Linked DNA regions of Homo sapiens: regions 1, 3 and 4 are each linked to region 2. The links are contacts of gene promoters, found by promoter capture Hi-C in blood cells and fetal thymus (Javierre and others, 2016). All regions are on one chromosome and are shown on one strand. Each heading gives the region's core, a stretch centred on a gene start or on the middle of the fragment in contact. The rest is flanking DNA. Distances are from core to core; before and after follow the strand shown. Region 1 overlaps GNAI3 (G protein subunit alpha i3). Region 2 holds the start of GSTM3 (glutathione S-transferase mu 3). Region 3 overlaps GNAI3 (G protein subunit alpha i3). Region 4 overlaps AMIGO1 (adhesion molecule with Ig like domain 1).

Region 1 (2,769 bases), core at 173-2,672, 170 kb after region 2:
ATAAATGATGCAGACAGATGTCAAGTAACTTGCCTATAATTACACAGTTAGTAAGTGGCAGAACTGAAATTTGCATTCACAGTTTGGCTCCAAAGCTGGTGTATACTGTCTCTATACTAATGATTTCCAAATTTAGATCTCTAATCTTGGCTTCTAACCTTGGCTCCAGATTCATATATCTAAACCATCTACCTGATATTAGATTTCTAGTAGGTATTTAGATTTCACAAACCTAAAATGCTCAAAACTGAGATACTGATTCCCCAACTCACTCTCACCTCAAAACAAACCCTGCTCCTCCCTCAGTCTTCTCATTCCAGTAAATGGCACCAACATTCACCAGTTGCTCAAGCCAAAAATGTTAAATGACATGTGACTAACGTGCAGATAAGACAAGGATGCCAGTGCCAATCTGTATATTAAATATTAGTAAAGCTTAATTTTTTTAAATAAAGCAATATAAATAGTTAATATAATAGTTTTAACAGTTTGTTCCTGAACATTGGAAACCATAGGCCTAGATCACTGCAAAAGCTTCCTAAATAGTTCAGTGCTTCAGACCTTGCCTTTTCTAAAGCCAGTTTGCCAGTCAGTAGGTGGAATAAACTTTGTAAAATGTAAATTAGATCTTGTCACACGATCTTCAATTATACTCAAAATCCATGGGCATTATGGTGCAATATGCTCTGGCCCCTGCCTACCTCTTCACCCTCATCTCTTGTTACTCTCCACTTTGTCCTCACAGCTCTTGTCAGACCAGCATTCTTGCTTTTCCTCCAACATACCAAACCGGTTCTTACTGAGTTAGGTCCTGACTCTGTCTTTCCTGTCTTTGCGTTTACTGTTACCTGAAATAAGTTTTGCAAGATTTTCTTCCTCACAGGAACAGCCTTTTCTGACTAATCTATCTAAATAGCTCCCACCCCGTCACAGTCTCTCCCCTTATTCTGTGTTATATTTTTTCATAGCACTTACCACTTCTTCACATGACAGATTAGCTCATTTCTTATCTTCCCCACTAAAATATAAGCTCCATGAAGGCTTATTCATCCCTGCATTCCCAGGGCCTTAAACTGGTCATGACATAAATTATCTACTCAAATAAATATTACTAAACAATGAATAATATTTAGTAACCATGATTCTTTACTAAATATTTCTCAACTTTACTAACCAAAAGTTAATTAAAATCCAAATATAAAAATTCTAGACAACTACATTCTTACAGAATCAAAAGGTACATTTATATATGATCTTGTCTTATTACATAATCGATAATCAGGGGTAGTACTAAATAGTTAATACTCAAATAGCACATAGTGACTTTCTTAGGATGCTGTTATAAAAAGGTGAATCCTCTCATTCATATCTAAAAAATCCAATGATTCTACTCTGGGAAGAAAATACAAATGCATACCAGTTATATTTTAAATTGCTTAAAAGACAGAATTCCCAGATTATCCATAGTAACAAGAGCTACTAAATTAAGAAAAGTTGAGATTAATGAATTAATGTGTACCATTCTTTTATATATTGAAAACCACATTTCCATCATTCATGTGAGATTATCTTGAATGAAATAATAAATCCATTAATCTCAGAATCAATTTCTACCTATCTCATTAATCCTACCCTATGGATGCGCTGATTAAAAAAAAAAACAAAAAACCCTCTGTTGCCCTACCTCTCTCACATTTTTCCAAGGCTCCCTGAGAAAATGTCAGTTTGCCTTTCCCTTTATTATCACACTAATATCTTCTCCTGAGCTTCCAGTTCCATCTCAGGGGCACTATTTTTAAAACCATCAGTTTATCTAATAATTCTCCAAATTATTGAAACACTTTCTATAACCCTTTCTTATTAGGTCTGGGCTCTTCACTTTTACCTCAACTCTCTGTGCTCCATTGTTCTAGCAGTAAGCTCCCTTTTCATAACATCTCATTGTTGCGTTTTCCCCAAGCTGCTTCCTATGTTCCATCTCCCTACTCCACAACACATGTGGTGTTCAGAACTTCCTAATTTTATCTGCATCTTTTATCTATCTTTTTTCAAAAATGTATCACAAGTTTAAGGAGAGATTCAGTTGCCCATCTTCAATACACCAGGGAAGTAATAGTTGAAATACAAAGAATGGGAAGATGCAAAGGATACTGCAAAGACAGCAGCTATGGCTTCAAAAGGGAGGAACTGAAGAGGACTCTGTATGCAGAAGGGATGGAACTATGCAGGGGGTTAGGATACACAGGGGAGAAAAAGTTGGAAAGGTCCCAGAAACAGGAGGCAATAGGATCCGTTCAACACAGAAGCTTTATCCTTTAAAGGATATCCTATATAAGTAGGAGAAAAGGATGAGAGGTGAAGTCACGGAGATTTTTGAGAATAAAAGGAGGAAGGAAGCCATGTTAGTTTCATTCTCAATAAAAGAGGCAAGGCAATCTGCAGAGAATAAAGGGAGAGGATTAATTTAGAAAACTATCTGGGGACAGGGAATGGTTGGTTCACACCTATAATCCCATCACTCTGGGAGGCCAAGGCAGGAGGATCACTTGAGGCCATGAGTTCAAGACCAGCCTAGGCAACATAGGCAAACCTCATCTCTACCAAAAAAAAACAAACAACAAGAATAACACAAAAAATTAGCTGGGCCTGGTAGCACACACCTGTAATCCCAGCTACTTGGGAAAATCTCTTGAGCCCAGGAGTTCAAGGTTGCAGTGAGTTACAACTGTGCTACTGCACTCAAACCTGGGCACAGAGCAAGACCTTGTT
Region 2 (3,098 bases), core at 526-3,025:
ACCCTGAAACTTAAAGTGTAATAATAATAAAATTTAAAAAAAAGAAAGTAATGCAAAAACTGCAAAAAAAAAAAAAGAAAAAGAAAAGAAAATGGGCATAACACCTACTTCCTAAAGTTGTTGTGAAGCTTAAATTGGAATAAATTAGCTAACATACGTAAACACTTAGATATTGCCTGGCATATGATAGGTGCTCAATAAATGTTAATCTTATACCTCAGGTGAATTTGTGACTGGCCTTTTGCTTTCTTGGGAGGAGAGACACAGGCATTATAAATTTCACCTGTCCATGTGGTTTGTACTCTTCCTTTCTTCTGTTTAGCAAAATGCCCTTTTAAAAAGTCCCAACCTTGCTTCAGTTGAACTGATGGGCAAATGTGATTTCCCACACCTGAGCTAGGGGATCTAGGCTCTCAGACTGCCCTGAGAGCTGTGCTGCAGAGGCCTGGCCAGAACCCTCAGAGCAGCTCCGGACTCCTTCCTCTGTCACTCCTCCACATTCAACTAGAATCCTATGTCTCCCGAGTTGACCCTGTTGCAAATCTGTGCCCCTTTTCATTTGCATGGGCCCTGCCGAAATTCAGAAGCTTAGTTCTTCCCATGACTATAGGGGCCTCGGGCAGGTCTCTTGCTCTGTCAAGGTCAAAACCCCTACTTTCCTAAATTCAACCATTGATTCTCCATCTTCATCTTACTTGATCAGCCACACTTGACATAGTTGATCACTTCTCCCTTTAAACATCTTCACATGGCTTCTGGGACCTTTTGTTTTCCTCCTACCTCCCTGGCCACTCCTTTTCAGACTCCTTTGCTGGTTTGCTCTCATTTTTCCCTAACCTTTACATGTTGATATGCCAGAGCACCTCAAACCCTTAGACCTCATCTCTGCTACTCGTGCTCCCATGGTGATCTCATCTAGTCTCTGGTTTCAAACACAGAGTGATCACTCCTGTACTTGCTGTTTCCCTTTTCCTGGAGTTCTCTCTGCCTCCTGCAGGTAGGAAGTGATTCGAGATAAGAGAGGGAGAGAACTCTTCTGGCCAGGATAGAGGGTGATTCTGAGAAGGCTTCAAGGAAGAAGTGAGCATTTGAGCACGGCTACTTGAGGAAGGCTAGGCCATGGACATTAGGGTGCAGGCAGGAGCAGAGCAAACATGCTTGTAAAAGGAACAGCAATTATTCTGTTTTATATTTATATCAGCCCATGGTGGCCCCCACAGCAGAGTGGCTTGATCTCTCACCTCCTTCAGGTCTTTGTTTAAAGATTAACTTCTCCATGAGGCCTTCTATGAACATAACCTTTAAAAACATAAATCCCCTTCCTACTGGGACTCCCCCAGTTCCCACCCTGAGACCCCCTATCTCTCTTCTCGATTTTATTTCTCTCCATAGGATGTGTATCACCACCTGACTTACTAGCTATTTACTATATATTAGTTTATTTCTTCCCCATTAGAATGTAAACTTCCTGAGGGCAGGGATTTTGTCTGTTGAGTTCAGTTCTGTATCCCCAGCACCTAAAACAGTGCCTGTCCATAACAGGCATGTTAAACATTGTTGGACAGATGAATGAGTGAATGAAAAATGGTAGTACCTTTCCTCCTCCAGTCCATCCTACACAAAGAGGCAAGATTAATTTCCCTAAATGCGTGAGCATTAGGAAGTGGGAGGGATTGGAGGAGGAAATTATAATAAGGAATCCATAAATTACTTAAGCCCATAAAACAAAGGTAGGAAACATTCAAGATAAGAGACCTCTTCTGGCCAGGATAGAGGTTGGTTCTGAGAAGGCTTCAAGGAATAGGCAGACATTTCAGCAAGGCTGCTGAGGAAGGATAGGCTGTGGAAATTAGGATGCAGGTAGGAGGATCACAGAGCAAACACTCCAAGGTGGGAAATGCAAGTGTGTGTAGAAGGAACAGCAAGTATTGTTGGGTTGGGCTGGCTTATGAAGTTGTGACGGGCTGAGGGAGAGACAGGACTGGAAAAGCACGTTGGGGTCAGGTTGCAGAGGTCCTTGACTGACAGAGAGGGGAGCTTGGTCTGTGGGGAATCTTCTGCTCTGTGTGGTCAGAGGCTGGTCTGACTCTCCGGCCTTGCCCCAGTCTTCCTATCCTTCATCCAGCCCCGGCTGGCTCGGTAAAAACGGCGCGAATCTCGCTCTCCCTGGGTAACTAGGGTCCCCACTGCCTGGCTAGTGGTGCTTTTCGCGTCTTCACTGGCACCATTAATGAATGAAGTCTGGCTCCCACCCGCGGGGAAGGGAGGAGCCTCAACCTCGGGTCCTTTGCTCTCCTGCAGCACTCCTGCCCGGGTCCCGCCTCGGGGTCGCCAGGCCCTGAACCCCAACGCCGGCATTAGTCGCGCCTGCGCACGGCCCTGTGGAGCCGCGGAGGCAAGGGACGGAGAACGGGGCGGAGGCGGAGTCAGGGCGCCCGCGCGTGGGCCCCGCCCCCTTATGTCGGGTATAAAGCCCCTCCCGCTCACAGTTTCCCTAGTCCTCGAAGGCTCGGAAGCCCGTCACCATGTCGTGCGAGTCGTCTATGGTTCTCGGGTACTGGGATATTCGTGGGGTGAGTGCCGTCTCAACGGTAGAGCCGCTCGGTCAAAGAGACTGACGCGGAGAGGGCGGGTCTCTGGGTCCGCGATCTCCAGCAGGAGCAGCTCTACGCGGGAGCCTTTTCGAGCTGCCGAGCCACGGATGTCGACCCCTGCCCAGCCTCTGGGATCGCGGGCCCTGTGGGGAGGGGCGGAGGAGACCACGCCGGAGCCGGGCCTAGGGGCCGCTTAACCACCGCCCCGGCAGGACGCAGGGACTCGGCAGCCCCGGGCCGGGGAACGTTAGCGGGCGGGGGTTGGGAATGGGTGGGAGCTGCGCAGTCGCTGAACCGCTGTCTTCCCCAGCTGGCGCACGCCATCCGCCTGCTCCTGGAGTTCACGGATACCTCTTATGAGGAGAAACGGTACACGTGCGGGGAAGGTAATGCCGCTCCGCGTGCCCGTGCAGCCAAGCTGGCCCTCCACCTGCCCTGGTCTTCTTACGCCCAGAGGGTGGTGGCGTCGCGCCAAGGCCGGGTGGGACGTTTGCCCCAATCTGG
Region 3 (2,813 bases), core at 295-2,794, 190 kb after region 2:
TTACGAAAACATGCTCAACATCACTAATTATCAGGAACTACAAATCAAAACTACAATGTGATACCACCTTACTCCTGCAATAATGGCCATAATAAAAAAAAAATAGATGTTGGTGTGGATGTGATGAAAAGGGAACACCTTCACGCTGTTGGTGGGAATGTAAACTAGTACAACCACTATGGGAAACAGTGTGTAGGTTCCTTAAAGAACTAAAAGTATATCTACCATTTGATGCACCAATCTCACTCCTGAGTATCTACCCTGAGGAAAGAAGCCATTATACAAAAAAGATACTTGCATACGCATGTTTATAGCAGCACAATTCACAATGGCAAAAATATGGAACCAGCCCAAATGCCCATCAATCAACGAGTGGATAAAGAAAATGTGATATACACACACACACACACACACACCCCTCTACACCCATGGAACACTACTCAGCCATAAAAAGGAATGAAATAATGGCATCTGCAGCAACCTGGATGGAACTGGAGACGATTACTCTAAGTGAAGTAACTCAGGAATGGAAAACCAAACATCGTACGTTCTCACTTGTAAGTGGATGCTAAGCTATGAGGATGCAAAGGCCTAAGAATGATACAACGGACTTTGGGGACTCGGGGGAAAGGGTGGGAAGGTGGTGAGGGATAAAGGACTATACATTGGGTACAGTGTAGACTGCTCAGGTGATGGGTGCACCAAAATCTCAGAAATTGCCACTAAACTTATTCACGTAACCAAACATAACCTGTTCCCCAAAAACCTATTGAAATGTTAAAAAAGTGACTAATGCATTTAAATAAAAGACACAAAGAATGATACATGCTTATAAAACACAAAGCTTTTTTTCCCCGAAACACAGATGCATCCTCACATGAAATGTAACTGGCCATGAACCTTATCCCAAGCAAATGGCAAACATAATAAAGGGTATAATCCCATAGGAGGATATAATGTAATGGCATGTTTACCAAAGGGCAGTCTTATTCTCAATAATAAGCATATTCAGCCAATAATATGCAGCAATTTAAATATAATTAACTGTATAATATAGAGTTTAAGTAAATTAGATGATTCCAGTTCTCTGCATGCAACTGGCTTTTTGCCATACTACCACCAGCAAATCCCAAAGAACAAAGTTTTTTTTTATGTTTTCTCAGAACCTGCTAAAGGAAACTATCAAGAAACAGAAATACAGAGAGCAGATAATTCAATAATTTACAAAACTAAGTATCTTCATTAGTACAGTGATGAGTAAAAAAAAAGGACTAACATTTAATTCCTTTCACCACAAAAGGATATTAAAATTCTTTGAAGATCTTTGAAAATAGTATATTAATATGAAAAATAATAAAACAGCTGTCTGAAAAACCTCTGAAAAAAGTAGCTAAAATGGTAATTCTCACGATCATCATCATCAATAGAAGTGACCACTTACTATTTTTTATTTGCTAGGCACTAATGTGAAGCATTTTACATGCATTATCTCATTTCATATTATGAAACATCATCTCTGCTTTACATATGTAAAAATTATTATTCTTATGGTTAAGTTACTTGCTCTGGGTCTCAGAGCTAATAAGTGGAGGTAGAACTTAAATTCAGTTTTGTGTGAATCCAAAAGCAGTGCTCTTATCCATTATACCAGTGCTTCCCAACCTTTGTCACATGATGGCACACATTAAAAATATTTGTAAGGCTCATTGGGGTGAGCTGAAAGAGCTTGGTGAAAAAAAATTTTCTTGCTTGCCCTGGGGTCAAAAAAAAACAAAAACAAAACCCGCACACACAAAATTTCTTATTATGAAATTATGGCATGAAAAAAATACAAAGTATTACAAATGATATTAAATATTAAATTGGTATAAATTTAGTATTTATACCAAATAAAATTTTTTCAAATTACCAAATTCATGGTAGGGTAGGCACAGTGGCTCACACTGGTAATCCCAGCACTTTGGGAGGCTGAGATGGGAGAATCACATGAGGCCAAGCATTTGAGACCAGCCTGGGCAACATAATGAGACCCCCATCTCTAATTGTTTAAATAGTAAATAACCAAATTACCAAATTCATGAATTATACAAGAGGAAATCATACCAAAGATGTTCAAATGTAATTTCAACTGTTGTAAAAGTTTGAACTTATAAAAATGATTTAAAATTTCAATGCTATAAAAAATTTGTAAACAGCACACCTATATGCCATCCTAAGCACTGGAACATTGGTTGGGAAGCTTTGCATGGTATTTTTTCAATAGAATGTCATAATTAAACACTAATTTGATATACCAAGATCTTCCCAAGAACACTTTATTTTTTTTTTTTTTGAGACAAAGAGTCTCACTTTGTCACCCAGGCTAGAGTGCAGTGGCGTCATCTCTGCTCACTGCAACCTCCACCTCCCGGGTTCAAGCGATTCTCCTGCCTCAGCCTCCCAAGTAGCTGGGACTACAGGTGCACACCACCACGCCCGGCTAATTTTTGTACTTTTAGTAGAGATGGGGTTTCGCCATGTTGGCCAGGCTGGTCTCGAACTCCTGACCTCAGGTGATCCACCAGCCTCGGCCTCCCAAAGTGATGGGATTACAGCCAGGAGCCACCACGCCCAGCCCTTTCCAAGAACATCTAAATGAAATTCAAACCAAAGGTTATCAAAGGAAGAATTACAATACTGAAGTGTCTGTAAATAATCTGGCCCACACTAGCTGCTTAATTTGGTATAATTTCCATAATACCTACAATCTGTAACATTCATTTTGACTTAATAAGAATAGCTAATCTTCATGGAGCTAGTACTATGTGCCAAGC
Region 4 (3,043 bases), core at 197-2,696, 240 kb after region 2:
CCTCTGGGCTCTGAAAACTAGACAATGATCATTAAACCTGGCTTGAGTCTCTGTTCTGGCACAATCTGACTGGTTTATTTTTTCAGCCTGTGGGTGGGGTTCACTGTACCTCAGAAGGGTGTGTCCTATCTAGGAAGAAAATCTTTAAGTGCTATTGTACGGACATGGGTGAAATACACATCTAGGCATTAAGATGGACCGGGGTCAGCAAACATTTTCCCTAACGAGCCAGATAGTAAATATTTTAGGCTCTGCAGACCACACAGTCTCTGTTACAACTCAGCTGTGCTGCTATAGCTTGAGTGTAGCCACAGACAGGACAAAAATGAATGACTGTGGCTGTGGTCCAAAAAAGATTTGACTTATGGACATTGAAATTTGAATTTCATATTTTAACATGCCTTTTGAGTTTTTCCAAGCATTAAAAAATATATAAACTAGGCCGGGCGCGGTGGCTCACGCCTGTAATCCCAGCACTTTGGGAGGCCGAGACAGGTGGATCACAAGGTCAGGAGATCGAGACCATCTTGGCTAACACGGTGAAACCCCGTCTCCACTAAAAATACAAAAAATTAGCCGGGTGTGGTGGTGGGCGCCTGTAGTCCCAGCTACGCAGGAGGCTGAGGCAGGAGAATGGGGTGAACCCGGGAGGTGGAGCTTGCAGTTAGCCAAGATAGCGCCACTGCACTCCAGCCTGGGCAACAGAGCAAGACTCCATCTCAAAAAAAAAAAATGTTATATATATATATATATATATATATAAACTACTATTAGCTCACAGGCCACATAAAACCAGGCAGTGGGCTGGTTTGACCAACAGACCATACTTTGCTGACCCCTAAGATTCTCAAATGTCACTGAAGCTTTAGAGTTTAGAAATCCCATGACTTGGCGCTCGCTGAGGCTTGTAGATAATGAAGTCTTCCTGGATCCCTAGGGCAGAGGGTTGCCTCCCTGCCGAGTTCTCTTAAAAGTCTGGATCAAGCCTACTGACCATACCATGGAAAAAATGCTTGGATTGGGTTTTAAAAAATGGTGGGCAGCAGCTCACTTTCACAGAATTTTATTATCAGTATTTTCATGTTGTAAATGGTAGCCATCTTAGGCTAAAAGTATATTCACCTAATGGGCAGGTTAATCTTCCTTGACAGTTTAGTGTGTCCTAGGCATTGCGTGGAACAGAAAAATGCAGTCCCTACGTTTTGGTACAGATTCAGCCTACCAGAAATTGGACTGGACTCTAAAACTCTAACCATGCTGATTCTTTGGCTCCTCTCTTGGTGATTCTAGAAGGGGGCTGTCGTGGCAGATTCCAAAGAGGGAGAGGAAATGATACCAGGAAAAAAATTAAAAGAATGCGAATTTGAATACTTACCTAAAGTCTTGACCGAAGGGCAGCCCTCCTCTATTTGGAAAGTTGTTTTTCACTTCAGGAGGAACAACCAAGGTGACGAGGGGTGGAGCTACTGCACAACCAGCCACATCAGACAAGTCAACCTTGGCAGTCAGTGAAATGACAGCTGTTGATGTCAGAGCACTCCCATACTCTGCATTTATATAGTTTTTCATCTGCAAAGCAGTTTTTCTATGGCTGACAATTTGGCTGACAGGATGAAGCTGATAAGGAGAGCAAGTCTGATGAGGACTACTTGGAGTTTGGAGTTCTCTCTTCTGTTTTGGCCTGTGCCAAGCCCAAGGAAGTCCATGGCTGCATCTCTTCAACACCCCCCACCCACCCACCACCCACATCCTCACCACCTCCCCCAAACCACAAGAAGTTCCTTAGATTCTGGCCAAGATGTGCAATTTTGTCTGCCATGCCTTGCAGCACTTACCCTGGCTCCTCTTAGGTAGCACTTGCGGGGAGGGAGGAGGCTAATATGACAGTTTTCTTTGAGAATAGGTAAGAGTTCAGTGCATTGGTTAACCTGGCCTCTCTTCCCCCCAGTCTCTCAACTCCTTCCCTTTCTGCATGCACTTCTTGCACCACTTATCTTGTATCTCCCAGGAAACCAGTGGGGAAGCTTCACTTTCTCCACCCACATAGCAGAAAAGGCTCAGGCCCCTGCAGTGGGACGGTTGGCTTTTCTGGTCTAGTCACAGTCAGCCTGTGCTGAATGCTTCCTCTCCTGGGGCTTGAGAGAGGAAGGCTAAAGCAGCTGCCAGTCAAGCCCCTTCATCAGGCTTCTACACTCTTAGGTGGAAAATGCAAAATGGTGAAGACACTTAGACCTGCCCTGACGCCTCCAATCTAGTCAGCTTGTTTACTCTCCCTGGTTGGAACCATGGCCTGAGAGAACCAACCTGCAGTGAGCCAGGACGTGGAGCCCTGCAGTGGGACTTCTGGATGCCCTTTGGCACTGGCATACATTAGGCAGGAGTCATTGCCTCCAAGGCTGGTGTATGCGTGCATGTGCGCACACATACAGGTTGGCAAGTACTGGAGTTGGATTGTACTTTGTGCTGCATTTCCCTTACCTCCCACTGCTCCCTCACTTGGTCATAGTTTGCTTTTGGGGGGCCTGAGCAGAACTGAGCATCCTTAGAAAGCACCATGAGATAACTGGGTATCTGCTTTAAAGATAGGGGTGCTAGGGGGCCACTCATGTATACTCAGTGAGACAGAGTTGGCTCCTCAGATGCCACTGAATAGCCTGAAGTCGTTCCTTAATCTGCTTCCAACAGAGGTTAAAAACTCATCTGGGAAATCCTAGCAATAGCAGGATTATAAACTGAGATTGTTATTCTGTGATGCATCTGGTGACTAGCTGAGTCTCCTGAGTGGGTGGGTAGGGGGAAGGTCCCCTCACTGGAGGTAATTTCTGCCTACATGAAGGGGTTAAGCCCAGCGCCATGCTGGAGACGGGCTACTTCAAACCACCCTCCAGGGCAGTTCTGCCTTTCAGCTTGTCGTCTTTGTGCAGTGCTGGTGAGAACTGCTGAGGCTCTGCACACAATGCCTGACTAGTGTTTCATTCCTGGATCCCAGGACAGAAAAAGCAATTAAGATAAAAAACGAATATTCAAGCCTCTGCACTGCTGT

The links. Contacts are between HindIII fragments. The CHiCAGO score rates a contact against its expected background, and 5 or more counts as called.
Region 1: a contact is called between a fragment that was not itself captured here and the fragment with the promoter of GSTM3 in region 2, in 1 of 17 cell types (erythroblasts). The highest score is 5.3, in erythroblasts.
Region 3: a contact is called between a fragment that was not itself captured here and the fragment with the promoter of GSTM3 in region 2, in 1 of 17 cell types (erythroblasts). The highest score is 5.1, in erythroblasts.
Region 4: a fragment that was not itself captured here is called in contact with the fragment with the promoter of GSTM3 in region 2 in 1 of 17 cell types (M1 macrophages); the score reaches 5.1 in M1 macrophages.

What each region holds. Positions count from the first base shown.
Region 1 is chr1:109,568,705-109,571,473 of GRCh38, reverse strand. The region is part of intron 1 of GNAI3 (G protein subunit alpha i3); the gene reads right to left. Among named protein-coding and RNA genes, the nearest start is that of GNAI3, 21 kb to the right of the region's middle. The HindIII fragment of the contact is 1,772 bases long and covers 537-2,308 here.
Region 2 is chr1:109,739,715-109,742,812 of GRCh38, reverse strand. It overlaps GSTM3 (glutathione S-transferase mu 3), which reads left to right and starts at 1,775. Exons shown (of 9, transcript NM_000849.5): 1 at 1,775-1,860; 2 at 2,302-2,573; 3 at 2,905-2,980. The coding sequence starts at 2,526. RefSeq lists a silencer at 2,336-2,565. The HindIII fragment of the contact is 14,932 bases long and covers 590-3,098 here.
Region 3 is chr1:109,551,683-109,554,495 of GRCh38, reverse strand. The region is part of intron 1 of GNAI3 (G protein subunit alpha i3); the gene reads right to left. Among named protein-coding and RNA genes, the nearest start is that of GNAI3, 4.5 kb to the right of the region's middle. The HindIII fragment of the contact is 1,395 bases long and covers 847-2,241 here.
Region 4 is chr1:109,501,196-109,504,238 of GRCh38, reverse strand. It overlaps AMIGO1 (adhesion molecule with Ig like domain 1), which reads left to right. Exons shown (of 2, transcript NM_020703.4): 2 at 1-61. Among named protein-coding and RNA genes, the nearest start is that of AMIGO1, 7.0 kb to the left of the region's middle. The HindIII fragment of the contact is 1,161 bases long and covers 866-2,026 here.